Linked DNA regions of Homo sapiens: region 1 is linked to region 2. The links are contacts of gene promoters, found by promoter capture Hi-C in human tissues and cell types (Jung and others, 2019). All regions are on one chromosome and are shown on one strand. Each heading gives the region's core, a stretch centred on a gene start or on the middle of the fragment in contact. The rest is flanking DNA. Distances are from core to core; before and after follow the strand shown. Region 1 overlaps LINC01122 (long intergenic non-protein coding RNA 1122). Region 2 holds the start of BCL11A (BCL11 transcription factor A).

The links. Contacts are between HindIII fragments. The study calls those that stand out against the background at their distance.
Region 1: a contact is called between a fragment that was not itself captured here and the fragment with the promoter of BCL11A in region 2, in 1 of the 25 tissues and cell types used here (dorsolateral prefrontal cortex).

What each region holds. Positions count from the first base shown.
Region 1 is chr2:59,061,394-59,064,093 of GRCh38, forward strand. LINC01122 (long intergenic non-protein coding RNA 1122) reads left to right here. Exons shown (of 14, transcript NR_033873.1): 14 at 1-2,373. Among named protein-coding and RNA genes, the nearest start is that of LINC01793, 150 kb to the right of the region's middle. The HindIII fragment of the contact is 3,651 bases long and covers 1-2,700 here.
Region 2 is chr2:60,552,296-60,554,995 of GRCh38, forward strand. BCL11A (BCL11 transcription factor A) reads right to left here and starts at 1,359. Exons shown (of 4, transcript NM_022893.4): 1 at 921-1,359. The coding sequence starts at 975. RefSeq lists silencers at 70-429, 1,839-1,928 and an enhancer at 2,619-2,668. The HindIII fragment of the contact is 9,532 bases long and covers 1-2,700 here.

The sequences.
Region 1 (2,700 bases), core at 77-2,576, 1.5 Mb before region 2:
AAACAAACAAAAAACTGAATGAATGGAAGCAGATAAGTGCAGAGAGAAACACTGATTTACCTTCAGAAAGATAAAAAAGTAGTATATTGATATACTTGTATATTGCTATCTACTAGTATAGCTTCAGTTGGTGTATGAGTATAGAACTATTGGGTTGTTCTTTATGTGATTACTCCTTCCCAGTTTTAGTAAAGTATTCCAATTTGAGGGAAATTCTTTCATTTGTCAATAAAATAAAAAGAGGTAAGTTTTAAAATCTGTATAGTTCTTCCTTCATGCTAGTTGCCTCTCTTTTTGATATTTCTTCTATAAAAATCTTTTCTTACATTCAGTTTTCATTGTATAGATCATGAAGGAACCATAGTGATTATCAAAGATCAGCCGATAAGTTCAAGGCAGAGTTCCACCTTTCCCCATGAAGCCCTTCCAGACTTGTTTACATGTAACACCCTTGAAGGCAAGACTCATGTCTATGCTATCTTTGCTGCTATTTGGCACGTATTAGGTGTAAGGGCAATTAGACCATATCAATTAATGATCAGTAAGAATGGATAAAGTAGATGTTTTTGTGAGCCTCTCAAAGAAGATGTATAGAATATTTTGGAAATGGGCCCAATTTGTTTCTAAAGGAAAATTTACTTTCAAATTAAAAAAAAAAAATCACTCAAATGAGATTTTGGGGGATTTCATATGATTAACTCTTTACATTATCTTGTGGTAATTATACAGAAATCTGTATTTATGTAAACACAGTAAATGCATCATAACACTAGAATAAGTATACAAATACTGCATGTCAAATTAGGTTATAATCACTTTCAAGGGACGTGATTTCCTAGCTAAACAGATTCGTTTACATTTTGCAAAATAAAAAATAAGTGAAAATAACTATATAAAATCAGGCTTACAGCTGGACAGATCTTCTTGGCAATGGTCCAGACACTGAGTAGGGAAAAGCCCCTCCAGCTGAGGAACGTTCAGGACGCTCAGGACGACTTTGCAGGCGCGGCCGGGAGAGAGGCCATTTTTGGGGTTGCCTTGACTGTGCACCCTGTTCCTGGCTACCTATGGGGAGATAAGCTGCATTCACATATCAGATGAGACTCTTTTTGTGAGAGGTCTGGGGTGGGATGTGGGAAGTGGAGTGAAAACCTGCTTAGTAGGGGAGGAAAAAAACAAGCAATCCAACACTTCACCTTTAGGTAATAAACATAATAGAAAAAGTCAGGAATTCTCTAACTAAAAAGCAGACAGTGGAAGCTAGCATCGGACTCACTGAATTTTAGAATCAGGGTCTGTGTACCATGGATTATCTGGCCCTGCCCTTGTCACTGGATGAGAAGATTCTGGCTATAGGGCAAGAAGCAGTGCTTGGACCGAGATCCAGAATGTTACCCTCAAATCTGAAGCTTATTTATGAGATAAATAAAGCTCATATTTTCAAGAGAGATAATTATTTTAAAACTTCTCATTTCAATGTGTACCTTAAAAAAATAAATACATTTTGGGCCAGGTGCGATGGTTCATGCCTGTAATCCCAGCACTTTGGGAGGCCGAGGTGGGCAGATCATGAGGTCAGTTTGAGACCAGCCTGGCCAACATAGTGAAACTCCGTCTCTACTAAAAATAAAAATAAAAAAATTAGCTGGGCATAGTGGCACGTACCTGTAGTCCCAGCTACTTAGGAGGCTGAAGCAGGAGAATCGCTTGAACCCATGAGGCAGAGGTTGTGGTGAGCCCAAATTGCGCCACTGCACTCCAGCCTGGGCAACAGAGCAAGACTCCATCTCAAAAAACCAATCAACCAACCAACCAACAAAAAACATTTCACATCTCCCTGACGTAGCCAACATTTTCTCCAACATTCTCTTATTTTGATGGCAGAAGGGCATAACTGTAAATCTCAGTTTTTATATGGTATTGTATAATATAGTGGCATCCTTTGCGGCCAGTTGATTGTGAAGAGCAGTTTGCCTTTACTTAGCTTCCATGAACATTAGCTTTAAATGCTCATTGACATTAATGAGAGCCAGTTTGCTAAATCTGTGTCTCCTTCATGTTCATTTGCTACTTAGTTTTGTTGATTCCAAGAAGTCACTAATTTTTTTAAATCATAGATTCTGATTTCGAGGTAGCTTCATTTTTCTAGTGTTGAGTAAAATGTGTGTGTGTGTGTGCTTTAGTTTAATTAATACTAATTTTTATTCAAAATATATTTGTTGAGCACTTACTCTCTGCTGTGGCTGGGCATACATTACTTTCTTTCCACAGTCCGTTGGTTGAATTGTCCTGAGCAGGGGTTGACAAATGATGGCCTGTGAGCCAAATCTACCCCACTGCCTGTTTTTGTAAATAAAGCTTTATCAGAACATAGTCACACTCATTTGTTTGCACATCATCTGTAGCTGTTTTTGCACACATGGCAGGGTTGAGTAGCTGTGATGGAAATTATATGGACCAAAAGACAAAAGTATTTGCTATCTGGCCTGCAACAAAAATATTTGCCAATTTGTGGCCCTGAGTATGAACCTTTAATTACCTAGCTGGTTTGATAAAAGAGCTAAATAAAATAGATGACACCAAACTGCAGCTACCTGTTCACTACTCACATTCAAGTGTCTGTGGTCACAAGAAATAATCATGTCACTGGATGATACAGAGAGAACTAGGAAAATTCTAGTCTTCAGAAAAATAGAAAGC
Region 2 (2,700 bases), core at 109-2,608:
GCTGCCTCTGAGGTTCGGTCGGGAGGGGAGGGCAGCGGCAACCCAGGAGGCAGCAGTCCGGGCTCCCTCCCTCCCTCTCCCGCGTGCCCCCGGCCGCCTCCTCCCCCGGCCCTAGCTCCTGCCCTTCGGCGGCGGCGGCGGCGGCGGCGCGGGAGGGCAAGCGCGAGGAGCCGGCACAAAAGGCAGCGGGACAAACACCCACCTCTGGCCGGAACAAAAGGCGGCAGTGCCGGCCGCGTCTCCCGTCCTTCCCGGTCCCACGGCTCTCCCCGTCGCCGCGGCCCCTCTCCCGACTCCGCGGACTCAGGAGCGCCGGGGGCCCCTTTCCACAGTGCCACTTTCTCACTATTGTGGGGATGACTACTTTCCTCCCGCTGCACACTTGACCGTGAGCGCGCTGGTGTCCAAAAGCCAGTCTCACCTCTTTTCTCCCCGGGAATCGTTTTTTAGACTTGTACTCACTCCCTCCCTACCCCCCCATTTTCTTACGGTGAGTGGGAAGCAACCTCCCTTTCCCCACCAGCTCCCACCCCCAGGTTTGCATGTGAGTTGTTCGCAACCTTAGCATTGTTCATTATTTTGCAAAACTGGCGGGGCGGGGGGGGAGTGGAATCATTGCATTCCTTTTCGAAAAGAGAAATAAAGCGGCGGAAAGGAGGAAAGAGGAGGAGTCAAATTTTTGTAAAATTAAATAAAATTAAAAGGTGCGTGCTGTCTCAAAAGTGCATACACGGCAATGGTTCCAGATGGGATGAGGGTTTTTTCCCCCTTTATCTCTTTTACCTCGACTCTCGGAGGTTTTTCTCGTGAAAAATTTAAAAATGCATGCACACACCCCTCTCTCCCCCTCGCTTTTGCTTCTAGTCCTGCGCGCTCTCGTGATTATTAATAATTATTATTACTATTATTGGGTTACTTACGCGAGAATTCCCGTTTGCTTAAGTGCTGGGGTTTGCCTTGCTTGCGGCGAGACATGGTGGGCTGCGGGGCGGGCGGCGGCGGCGGCGGCGGCGGCGGCGGGCGGACGACGGCTCGGTTCACATCGGGAGAGCCGGGTTAGAAAGAAGGAGACTCCAGAGAAAATATCTTCATCAGTGCCTTTTGACATCCAAAATAAATTAGAAATAATACAAAGATGGCGCAGGGAAGATGAATTGTGGGAGAGCCGTCATGGCTTTTTTTTAAGCAAAAAAAAAAAAAAAAAAAAAAAAAAAAAGAGGGAGAGAGAGAGAAGAGAGATAGAGGGAGAGAGAGAGAGAGAGATGAAAAAAATGGCAAAAGCCCCCCTGAGCTGCAAGTTCAAGTGCGGACGTGACGTCCCTGCGAACTTGAACGTCAGGAGTCTGGATGGACAGAGACACACAAAACATGGGCAGGGCGAGCAGGAGAGAAGGGGAGGAGGGAAGGGGAAGCTCACACCAATGGACACACATCAGGGGCTGGACATGAAAAAGAGACCAGGACAAGCCAATGGCCAGTGCGGGGAGGGGGAGGTGCGGGGCGGGGGGCTCCGCGGACGCCAGACGCGGCCCCCGGGGGAGGGGCGGGCCGAGGGGAGGGGGCGCTGGGGCCGCGGGCTCACCAGTGGCCGCAGCGAGCGCCGCGGCGGTGGCGTGGCCGGGAGAGAAGAAAGGGGTGGCAGGGGTGGGAGGAAAGGGTGGGGGGGAGCAAGACGTGCGCCCTGCTCCCCCCCACACACGCGGACTCTAAAATGAAAGATTATTCAAAAAAGAAAAAAATAGAGCGAGAGTGCACCGGGAGGCTGCAGCCCCGGGCTGGGGAAGCGCGGGCGGAGGGAAGCCAGGTAGAGTTGCTCCCGGACACCCTCCTCCGTACGCACACCCACTTCCCCTCCCCGCCGCCGCCGCGCTCGCTCCCCGCGTGTGGACGCCAGGGGCCGAAGTAAAAGCCCCGAGCCCGCGGCTGCGCTCGGGAAACTTTGCCCGAGGAGAGGACAGCAAAGAAAAATCACCCGAAGTTGAGAGCTGAGCCTCCAAGTTACAGCTCCGCAGCGGGCGAGGGGAGGTGGGAGGGAGCGCACGGCAACGCGGAATCCAGCCTAAGTTTGGAGGGCTGCGGGTCCGGAAGGGCAGCGCCCAAGTCTCCAGGAGCCCGCGCGGCCTGGAAAGAGGGGACCGGGGAGAGGCAGGCGGCGCAGGCCGGGGCCCGAGGGCGCCCCCAAGGCCGAGCCAGGGACCGGGAATCTGAGCGCCCCGCCAAGCGACTGGGTCTGAATGCAACTGAAAGCGCCGAGTCCCCGGCTCCTAAGGGTCGCAGAAAGAGAGCCCGAGGAATAAAGAACGAGGAGCCAGAGTCTGGCCCCCGGAGGGGAGCGCCGGGGGCCTGGGCAAGAGAGGCACCGAGGCGTCCACCTCTCTGAGAGGCCGAGGACAAAGCGCGGGCAGTCCCGGGAGTCCCAGTCCCTGGGAATGTGCTCACGGCGCCGCGGGAGGTCCCCGAGCCGGGTCCCTGGGAGGGACACACCCCCTCCCACTCCAGAGCAACTGCAAAAGCACAGAGGGATGGGAAGAAAATGTTTCTTACGGGCAGAGCACAACTGTTCCTGTGCTGTTACCCAGGGAAAGAGAAAATGGGAATGGAGAGAGAGCGACAGGCTCGCAGGAGCAGCGGGGAGACCACGGTGGTGAGATGACCGCCTCGGGTCACCGCCGCGCTCCCCAGGCGCCGCCGGCCAAGGCG